Linked DNA regions of Homo sapiens: all the other regions are linked to region 3. The links are contacts of gene promoters, found by promoter capture Hi-C in blood cells and fetal thymus (Javierre and others, 2016). All regions are on one chromosome and are shown on one strand. The core of a region is centred on a gene start or on the middle of the fragment in contact, and the rest is flanking DNA. Distances in the headings are between cores, read along the strand shown. Region 1 overlaps CCDC141 (coiled-coil domain containing 141). Region 2 overlaps CCDC141 (coiled-coil domain containing 141). Region 3 holds the start of CCDC141 (coiled-coil domain containing 141).

Region 1 (3,476 bases), core at 577-3,076, 140 kb after region 3:
TATGTTCCCTCCCTCTCTTCTTCCATATTTGCATTCAGCTAGTATGTTGTGTTCCTATTCTTGCCATGCATCAAATGGGTACTTGAGCGAAAGCAATGAAAGATATAATCCCTGCTTTCCAGACCTTCTCAGTCAAGTTTAGATGAGAGGCCAGGGAACAGAGGTGCACTGGGTTGTGGGAAAGCTATGATGGAGAAAGCCCAAAGCATTAGAACACACAGAGCAGAGACCCTTAACCTGGCTCAGGGAAAAAGAGTCAAGGAAGGCTCCCCAGAGGAGGTGATCACTGAGATAAGTTTGAAAGGATGGGGCAAGAAGGGCCGAGGAAGGGCTGGATGGTACAAAGTCATGCCATGTTTGGGGAACCTAAGATAATTCAATTCGCCAGGAATGTAGGGTGTACACCTAAAGTGATGAGAGACAAAGGTGGTAGAAGCAGGTGGGGAGATCAGGAAGCATTTTGAATAGCATGCTAAGGAGTTTCTATTTTATGCTGAACATGTCTTTATATATGCAGAGATATTTAAGAATTGAAAAAGTCATGATGATGCAAACCTCACCACAAGAAACAGATGATGTCTTAATTTACCCTCTTCCTGTACTCCCTATGACAGAGTGATGAGTGTAGTGTTTAGAAACCTTTGATTTTAGAGCTCAGAGGTCAGGCTGTTTAAACCACAGCAAGTATTTGATAAATATGGCTACATTATTAGCATACAATTATTAAAATAGATATATCATAGAAAAATTATAGAAAAAGAAACATCTTTAACATCTTAAGTGTCTCATGAGAGCTCACAACTCAGTTCATATCTAATAGTCTGATAATCAAGACATTCAATTTTATTGTCCTCACTCATGAATACCTTTCACATTTAAGCTGTCAATGGATTTCTAACGTAAGAGTGTATTAATTGGTTTCTCTTCTATGTGCAGTATCAGATTGTTGCATCTCTCTGTTGGCAGTAAGCACATTCTGCTTAGTATTATAGATATTTATTTCTGGGTAGATTTCTTTTGCTAAATTAAAATTTCTTGAGGGTAAGAAACATGTCCTTTTCACTTTGTGTTCACCAGAACACCTAGAACAGTGACTTCTAGTTAGTGGGTGTTCAATAATTATTTGAATGACTAAGAGCAGTGAAATATTATAAACTGTAGAGTTTCAAGGCCAACTACATGAAATTGTTCATAGGAGATTATATTGATCCAAGGTACTTGGGACTTGACCATTTTGAAAGAAGATAATTTAATTACTTTAATATACAAGGAACACAAATTTTAAGCTTCATCTCTGCATCATATCTGAGAAGGCAGGTCTTGCTGTGTAAAGGGCTTGTCATCTACACATAGTGCCTCCTCTGAGACATCTCCAGGCAGCACTAATTGCTTGTTTTGTATCATTTCCATAATATTTCTCTGTATGCCTTAGAGAGAGATTGTGTCCTAATCTTCTTTGTGTGTCACATAGGTTCAAAAAACTTTTGTCGGATGAATGAATAAATGACTGGCCATGTGACAAATCAATTTACATTTTGAGCTTGAGTTTTCTCTTTTATAAAATCAGTCTAATATTCCTCATCTACTTCAGAGAGTCTCATTCAATAATAAAAGTTCTTATAGTTGGTGATAAATTGTACACACTCTTTTTGGGATACAGTTGGAGTGTAAAATAAATGGAATTGTAGGGTATTAAGTGAAAATTAGAAATGTTTGCTAGCATTACACTTTGCCAAAATAACAGTAGATTTTGGAGCCAGAATGCCTGAGTATGAATCTGATCTTGGACATTTATTAGCTCTATGACCTTGGGCAGTCACTTAACTTCCCTGTGCATTGGCTTTTTTAACCTGTAAAATAGAAGTACTATTGGTACCTTACAAGGACATTGTGCTGTCTAAGTAAGTTAATACGTGGCTACAGCACAGAACTGCTAAGCACTCACTAATTGCTAGGCAGTATTTTGTCTTTATATCTCTAATGTGATGTAATGCTTTTGTTCATTTTCACATTCCCAGCACGTAGCTGAGTACATAGTCCATAAATTTCAATGTTTTTTGAATAAGTGTAAAAATAAGTGCTTTACACATTATAAATGGACATTTTCTACATTAATATTCCCAAGATCATCTTAAAGTCATTTAGGTCAACTTAGAGAAAAGAAAACAGAAATTATAAATAGTGACTAGCTGCCTAAAGTGCTATTGAATGGGTCTAGTTGTATTCCTCAGAACAAGAGATGGTCAATGCATAAACTTCCTCCATTCCTTGTTGATAAAATGCTTCAGATACATACCACTTTCAATCCCAAACCTCTTTTATTCCAGTGTTTTCTCAGCTTTCCAGATTATGAGACAAAAGCTTCCATAGGTGCTAATGGCATTTAATACCTCTCATTAATACCATGAATTCACCCTGGAACAAGGAGGGAGCTCTGAGGTCCAGCAGCAACTGCCTTTGACAGGCAAGGAATAAGCTGGAGCTGCAGCAGAGGACAGCAAATATTGGGAGCTTAAAAATCACATCACCCCTATATTCTGGCCTTCAGGGCATTTGAAAGCTTGGGCAGATGTGGGGAGGACCTGAATTAGGAATCAGTTCCCCAGAGTGGGAACCACCAGAAGTTCTCTCAGGTGATGTGTAGGAAAGGAAACTGAAGCTTTTGGTCTTTGTAACAGAACCTAAGGGAAATCTGAATCTCTACAGGTAATGGAATCTGGTGCTCTAATTAGAAGCACTAATTAGACTCAACTCAGCACTTAGCTGAGTTTTGTGTTTTTGATAGTTATAAGCATTCCAACAAAACTCTCTCCAGCCACTAGACTCGTGGAAGGAAATTTTCTAGGTTCTGCTGTTTTCTTTCTGTTGTTGTTCGTGTTTAATGTTGACTCTCTTCAAGTTGATTAGTCAAGAAGCAAACAACATTACTTATTAAACACCTTTGTGAAACAGCATGATAGAATTCTGCTAGATGACTCACGGCTCTTGTTTGAATTCGTCTTGCAGATATTTTTAAAAGAATGAAATGTGCCATGTCCTGATACTATCTCTATTTGATTTGGTGCAGGCTGCCTTGGGTCCTGTACTAAACAAGTGAAAAAGGAAAGGTCTTTATTGGTTTTGTAAAGAACAAACACCAAGCAACTCCTTAGTCTTTACCAAAACAAGACCGAAAAGAGCTGATTCATCTTCTTATCTGCCTAAAAACTGAATAGTACATATAAAATGTTCAAGAAGAGCTAGGAACCAGAGGGATAAAATATTATCCTTGTCCTATATCCTTTTTTCCCAATCCAGTCATAGTAGCTTTATTTGACTTGCACGTATAAGGTTTGAAGAGAGATATATGAAGGAAAAAAGACCAAAGGGAAAACACTGCTTCCAAAGGAGTTTACATGGGGGTCACAGTGTTCTTATTGCCAGAAATAATATGTTCTGTACTGTGTGTGCAACAAAGGGAGTCTTTCCAGGCTGGG
Region 2 (3,806 bases), core at 894-3,393, 150 kb after region 3:
TGTAGATCTTCATATTTTCATATTTTACAGAGACATAAAACAGGAGTTAATTGGATTTTGCTTTCTTTTCCCACAGTTTTCATTTGTGTTGGCTACTGCTACTTCCTTTGGTTGATATTGTGCATGGTTTTGAACTTTTTGGAACAGGACATGATCACTTTCTTCATTTGTTTATTCAGAAATATTTATTGAGTGTCTTTTGTAAATCAGTTGTTTCCAAGCATCGAATGTGACAGGTGAAGTGTCCATGTTTGTGGTGCTTATGCTATTCTGGTGGTAAGAAATAGCCAACAGATAAATCAAATACATAAGATGCTCTTACTCAGCAATGAGTACTATGAAAAAATATAAAAGGGAAATGAGATAGAGTGACTGAGCAGGAGATCATTTTAGACATTGTAGTCAGAGAAAGACTCTCTAAGAACAAAGGGGGCTACCCTGCAAGCAGCTAGGAGATGAGTGGAACAGGCAGAGCAATAATAGTAAGGGTGCCACAGAGAGAAGGGTGGTGTGGCTGGAGGAGGGGGTGGCAGGGGGAGAAGGGTGTCAGACAAGACTACAAAGTGAGGGGGGAGGTACACTATGCTCAAAGACTCATTGGCAATAATGGCAAACACTTCTGTGCTCTAGACATAAATTAATTTAATCCTCAAAACCACCCTGTGAAATGGGTACTACTATTATCATTGTCCCTGTTTTGCAGATGAGGAAACTAGGGCACAAAGAAGTTTAATAACTTGCCCTATTGCCTGTCACACTGCAGTAAGGGTTGGTGTGAGTACTTGAAAGCTGATCTGAACTACTCTGTTAGGTTGCCAGTTTTTGTCTTTCTACTCCTTTCATTCAGCTTTAATCAATAACAAGAAGCCTGTTGGCTAAATGAACATAGATCCTTTTTTAAAAATATATATTTTAGTGCACTTAAAATTTACTCTAGCTTCTAGCTTCAGCTCAAGTCCCAACTTCTCTGCAAAGTTTTTCTTTCTTTCAGTTCATTTAGGAAGTTATCAAATGTACATATGAGCATCTTATATGGCATACCAGCACCAGGCCTCAGGGACAATCAAAGCCATATAAAACTGACCCCAAATCCCCAGAACCTGTCCCGCGTCCAGTCAGGGAGCTGCACATCAAGGAAGTGTGCTCCAGGCACGAGGGGCCCATGAGTACAGTGGATGTTGCGGTCACTTCTTCAGAGAAGGGAGACACAATCCGAAAGTCTGAGATCAAGACAGGCCAAATGAAAGGGTGAAATCTGAGAGGGCTATGAACAGTTGCTGTATTTGGTAGGCTGAGATGGGTGAAGGGTCTACATCTTCGAGCCAAGATGAACTGAATCAATACCTGCCACATAATAGTTTCTTGAATTCCTTTTTGTTTGTCACGTCTATCTCATGGCTCCACTTTTCATTCTGGGCTGGGCTGAATCATTCTTTAGTTATTTCATTTGTGACAGTATCATGTCCTCATTCAGACCATGATATCAACTCAGGGCTGAAACCACCCAAGAAACCTCTTTTTTACCTTATGTTAAGGGGCTGGCATGACATTGAAGGAAAGCCCTTAACACAGTGAAAATATTTACAAAGATCTTAACAAACAAAAACAATCTCCATTCTCCAACAAGACAAACACATTTCCTTTGCCTAGTAGATTTGTCTATGCCTGCATTTTATATGAACTGTACTAAGCATTTAAGAACTTAAAAATAACTGCTTTTAAAAGACTTTGATGATGCATTTAGATGGTAAATGTCAGATAGTGAAATTTAGGAAATTACAAAGTTGAGTTCTTATGACAGTCAACCCAGCCACTTTCCAAATATTTTCATGTCTATATTAAGCTGTTCTTTTTAGAGGCTGGGTAAATGTCATAACTGCAATCCTGGCTTGTTAACACCGTTAAGGATTTTATCATTCTAAAACTCTTAGTGTGGAAAGTACCAAAAGCTCACACTTCCCATTAAATCCAGGATTAACTACACTAGGTTCTCATAAAGTATCTTTATCACGGCAATATGAATGTATTCATTTATAATGCTGATGATGTGAAGTAGCAAAGATCCCAGAGTAAAAAGATCTGGACCTACAGAACCTCCAGAGGAAGGCTGACTAAAGAGGCAGAAATCCCTGCCCTGGGTGATTGAGGACTCCTCTCATATTACAGGGTTTAGGGAGAAGAGGACAAAGAAAAGAGACAGGAAGAGATGTGAGGGGACATATTTATGAATAAGATGCTCATCACAGTGCTATTTATAATAGTGCAAACCCGAAAACCAGCTAAATATTTCCAGAAACTAGGGAAATGTTTGAATAGTTTAAGGGAAAGCACATAATGGAATATTCTAAGTCCATATCAAATAGTTTTTTGAAGAATATTTTAAGACAGAGTATCCTCACAATATAACGGTAAGCAGGTACAAGTGGGACCCAATTTCTCTATAAGGCATAATACTAATGTGGGGTAGAGTAGGTGAGGAGGGCCAGGGGACTACCAAAAAGAAAGTCTTTTTGGAAGGAAATACATTAAAAGATATTTTTATGTTTTCCAAATAATCTCAAATGTGTGCATTTATCTGTTTAGCTCTTGCTGTGCCCTTTTAATCTCAGTATTATGTCGCAAATTATGAGAAAATTTCAGCAAGTATCTTTTTAAATATTACTTTTCTGCTATTACCTTTTTTTTCTCTTCTATACCTTCTATTAGAAGAATGTTGGAGCCTCTTGGTCTCTTTGCAGTCTCTTACCTGTCTTTGGTATTTTTTCACTATTTTAACTCTCTGTGTTGCACTCTCCATGGGTCCTCAGGGTATTTTCTCTTTTTTCCTTTTTCCCTTTGTTTTCATTCATTGATTTCTTATTTTAGAAAATATATTGTTTTCATTTCTGTGATTTCTAATTTTTTTGTGTGTCTAATTTTGTTTTATTTCTGACTTTTTGTTTCAAAGTTTCTTGGTCTTTTATTGTGGGTGTTGGGTTTTTTTAATCTCTCTGATGATCTCAGGCATTTACTTTAAAGTCATTGTCAGATTGCTGTACTTATTTTCTTTACAGCTAGAGTACATTTATCTCTTGGTTGTTGAACATATCTTGGATTTGCTTTTCTTCATGTGTTTTGAGATTTTGGATTGCACTCTCATTTGGAGTGGGAGGGTTTTTTTCTTTGACTTTCTTTTGCTTGCTTGCTTCTCTCTTTGCTCTTTCCTCCTTAGCAGCTTTGCAGTGACCACCTGGACTCATAGGACCTTCAGTCCAGCATCAAAATGTACTTCTGTTATTTGATCAGGGTCACACAAGCGTCTGTGGAGATATTGTGGCTCTTGAAGATGCAGTCAGGAAACCAGAAGAGGGCTTGAGGTGGTTCCTGATGGCTCTGCCATGTTTAATTCCATGGCCCTCATAGCTGTTGGCTGCAGCATTTTCAGCCTCCCCTAATGAGGGCAGAGAATTTCAGCTCTGCTACTGATTTCAGGAAGAATCCTAGCAATGGTACCCTTCACATAGGACATATATGTTGGTCTCTATGGCCTCATAGAAATGGAACTTCTAGCCATCTCTACATGCATCTGAACAAGAACCCAGGTGCCCTGTAGCTTCAGCCACACTTACTGCTTTCTGTTTCTACTTTGTTATCTATACATAAAACATTGTGTGTGTGTGTGTGTGTGTGTGTGCGTGTGTGTGTGTGTGTGTGTGTGAGAGAGAGAGAAATGTTTGGTGGGAGAAATTTTCAAAGTATATAGCTTAAATAAGAATCAAATTTATTGTAGAAACATATGCATTTCACTTCTACAGTATAAATGGCAC
Region 3 (3,688 bases), core at 397-2,896:
GACCCCCCCACTCCTGCCTGCCAGAGAACAACCCCCCTTTTTCCTTTACTTACCCAAATCCCATAAAACGGCCCCACCCCTATCTCCTTTCGCTGACTCTCTTCTCAGACTCAGCCCACCTGCACCCAGGTGAAATAAACAGCTTTATTGCTCACACAAAGCCTGTTTGGTGGTCTCTTCACACAGATGCAAGTGAAAGAAGGAGCCTGCCTGCAACCTTCCAGGTCAGTTACCTCTTTGCAAGCTCTCCAGCCCTGCCATAAAATGAAACCATTTGCAATAGTTGCTACATCATAGCTTGCTCGGCATCTGCTTTCCTGAGCTCGCTCCAATTGTTCCCTTCATGGGGTCAGGTGAAGTTCGTGTTGCATAGGGACTAGGATCTAGGTATGGTTTCCATCTCACTGGGGCAGCAGGCAGATGCTGAGCGCAGAGGACATGGGTGGTGGCTACACAGCTGCAGAGCAGCCATGACATGCTCTTGGAAACAAAAATAATTGAACACTGAAGTATGTGTAAAAGTACTTTTCCCCTTTGAATCAAGAATATGATCATGAACCTTAGCAAAACAAAGCAATGGAGCTGACTCAGTCTTCTAAACATTGGCCCTGAACCTGAACCTACTATTAAATTGGGCTAAAAGGTTTACAGAGCAAGTGGATTCATTAAAACTGTTTTTTGCTATATTCTCTGTTGTGGCTTTGTCCCAGAGATTTCCAATGCTTCCAGCAGCTTTGGAGTTAGTAACTCTGATATGTTTGCATCTGACTTCTGACCTAAACTTTAGTGTTATTTTCAGCTGTTCTTTGACAGGGAATCCAACAGCTGCTGTTTAATACCACAGACAACTTGTGACACAGGCTGAGTTTCTAGCAATAGGATTAATCTACCAATGTGGGGCACTGATTTGAAGCTGGCTATAATTTTCCTGAACAGGAGGTGGGGGTAGGGAATAAAAAGCCTGAAGCACAGTACTTTCCTTTTTGTTTTTGTTTTTAATTGCAGCAAAATATATGTCTTAATAACTTTTAACCACACAGAAAACATTTTCTTGCTGCAATTAAAAGGTAACAGCAAAGTATTTTGCTTTCTCATGGTATTAATAACTGAACTTGAAAACCTTGTCCAATGGAGCAGAATAGTCACAAAGAAAATCTGAAATGATAGGCACCTATTTATAAATGCTGGTTGAAATATTTTTTAAAAATTCCTAAGAAATCTGAGGCTCTGAGAAAATGTGGCTATTCCATCTAAACTTCATTTAGCAAAGAACAGTAAGTTTTAGAAAAGCAGATTAATCTAAAAATGTGTTTTAAGCAATTTGTGACTTAACCCCAAGACAAATACCAAAACTTTTTTAAAGTACACTTTGGTAGTTCTCTTTGCATCAGAGAGATTTCAAAAATCTTGAAAAGATTGATAACCAGGTCAAAGACTTACTTGTTTCAAAGTCCATGGTTACAATGGCATAGTTTCGGTGGCAAAACTAATTTGGGTTGTCAGGATGTAATTTTTTTTTCCATTTGTTATCAAACATCAGCTGATAAGGAAAGAGCTTGAAGCTGTCCTCCACATTTAAGATAACAGCAAAAATAACAGGCACTTAGTGTCACCATACTAGGGGCGTGGCAATTCTCTCTCGTTCGCTCCTTTCTCTCTCACGATAAACTCAATGGGGTTGTCTATTTTTAACCTCCTGTTCTTTCCTTTTGGCAGAGTAATCAGTGTGAGCTGAGCTCTTTCCCTGAATGAATCCAAGTAACCCTGGCCTTCTGAAATGACCAGCAGACACACAACTGTCCAGAGGCTGCCCAAAGTATAAACTCTGGTTCTAAAGTACCATGTCCAGCCAAGGAAGTCCTAGTGTTGCGCTTTCTACGACGACAGTCAGTTCAGTTGCTGTGCAGGCTGGGGACTCCAAAATCGTTATAGCTGTCATAAAGGTAAGCTAACAACTTCCTTTTTTCTGTGCGGCTGTGGGCTTCTAGCTGTGTGTTGAAAACCCTAAAGAACATTCCATGCAATCGGCAGGACACAGCATAGAGAAGACAACGCAGCAAGCACTCTTACTGCTTTCTAAAATGGGCTACTAAGAGAAACCTCTACAAGTTTCAGCAGTTACCAGAGATTCTCTTTCCTTTCAGTCAGCCAGAAAGCATCTATAGCAGCTTGATTTAAAAAAAAAAAAAAAAAGAAAAGAAAGAAAAATAAAGAAAAGAAAACCTCTAGCATATACTGTCAATTTGGTCTTTAAAAGCAAGGCATTGGTAACTGGAAGTTCATGATTGCCTGACTAAAGAGTCCAATGGACCTGTGGAATGCTTGTGATTTTTGAGAGTGGATGTGATGGAGGTGGGAGGAGGCAGGTCCCGACAGACAGGGGGAGGGCACTGCTTTAAGCACGATGGAACTCAGAAAACACCAAGTAAAGGGCTCCGACATGTGCCCTTTGCCACACTGGTTTTGACATGGTAAAGAAACTACTAAATCCTTGTCCAGTAACGAAGACCATGCAAGGAAAGGTACAAAAGCTTTGTGTCAAATTTGCTCTTAACAGCAGGAAGTAGAAGCCACTTAGGGTTTACAATTACTGCATGTTTTATGACAACCCATTTGCCCATTTGCAAAGATGACCACACATCTTTAGGCTGAAGAAGAACTCCATGATTTTATTCTCCATGGAAATGCCCTGTAAAAAAAAGCTTTCAAGCACTAGGCTTGGGCTTTAGATGATATTCCACCTAAATAATTCAGTGTTTAATGAAGGGAAAGCTGGCAAACAAGCTGATGGTCACAAACCAGTTACTTTCAGGTCCCCACCAGGTTTAATTGAATGACTTTTCTGGCCTTTTGTTAGAGCATGGACAGCAAGCCATGTTTACTTTAACTTAATTGCTGTGAATTTTATGGTAATGTGAAAATTCATACCAGGAAAAGAGCACTTGATACTGAGCAAAACAGTTCACTATAGAAGGACAGAATGGAAAGTATTCCTGCCGAGGTGGATTTTCTGGTGTTGTGAGACTTCTCTCCCACAGGAACCAGGCCTCTGCTGACTTCCTCACCCTCCCATCTTTTCAGAGTCCCAGAGAGGAGATGAAAAGAAGCCTGATGCAGAAGTAGGGCAAACAGATCATTTGCACGGGATTAATGATACTTTGAGTTAACTGCAGATTTCAGCAATGAGGGAAAAGAGGCAAACTCACTATTTTTCAAAAAGTTAACTTTCCATTTCCTCAAATATGAACATTCTTGGAGCAGGATGAGGAATAATATTAGAGGATAAATTACAGAAGAATCAGAGGTAGATTGAACACAAAAAAATTACACTGGAAATTACACTGGAAAATTACACTGGAAACTCTTATTTTAACTGAATTGTGTTTCTAAGAATGTTCCCCCACTACCCTCTCCTCAGCCCTCTTACCTTACTGCCATCTCCATACAAAATACACCCCAAGCAATTCAGAGTATAAAGTCCACCTTAATGGAATGGAAGTGCCTGTGTGTGATTTATAGTGACTGTCCAAACTGTCTCAGGGGACTGAATATATTCTAAAATAGAAATACATTTTTCTAATTTCTCTTTAGTAATTCAGGTATCTACATGCGTATGCGTGTTAGTGGTTCATTTTGCTTAATGAGTTGTTGCTTCTTAGAAAAGCAATTCCTCAGGAAATGCAATGAC

Evidence for each region. Contacts are between HindIII fragments. The CHiCAGO score rates a contact against its expected background, and 5 or more counts as called.
Region 1: a contact is called between a fragment that was not itself captured here and the fragment with the promoter of CCDC141 in region 3, in 3 of 17 cell types (naive CD8 T cells, non-activated CD4 T cells and naive B cells). The highest score is 5.5, in naive CD8 T cells.
Region 2: a contact is called between a fragment that was not itself captured here and the fragment with the promoter of CCDC141 in region 3, in 3 of 17 cell types (naive CD4 T cells, total CD4 T cells and total B cells). The highest score is 5.5, in naive CD4 T cells.

The regions. Positions count from the first base shown.
Region 1 is chr2:178,909,731-178,913,206 of GRCh38, reverse strand. The region is part of intron 7 of CCDC141 (coiled-coil domain containing 141); the gene reads left to right. All of the region lies in intron 2 of LOC105373766 (a long non-coding RNA gene), which reads right to left. Among named protein-coding and RNA genes, the nearest start is that of TTN, 100 kb to the right of the region's middle. The HindIII fragment of the contact is 1,075 bases long and covers 1,289-2,363 here.
Region 2 is chr2:178,893,691-178,897,496 of GRCh38, reverse strand. The region is part of intron 8 of CCDC141 (coiled-coil domain containing 141); the gene reads left to right. All of the region lies in intron 1 of LOC105373766 (a long non-coding RNA gene), which reads right to left. Among named protein-coding and RNA genes, the nearest start is that of TTN, 88 kb to the right of the region's middle. The HindIII fragment of the contact is 4,463 bases long and covers 1-3,806 here.
Region 3 is chr2:179,048,095-179,051,782 of GRCh38, reverse strand. It overlaps CCDC141 (coiled-coil domain containing 141), which reads left to right and starts at 1,646. Exons shown (of 24, transcript NM_173648.4): 1 at 1,646-1,943. The coding sequence starts at 1,842. RefSeq lists enhancers at 1,570-1,649, 1,660-1,909, 2,100-2,149. The HindIII fragment of the contact is 6,980 bases long and covers 1-2,533 here.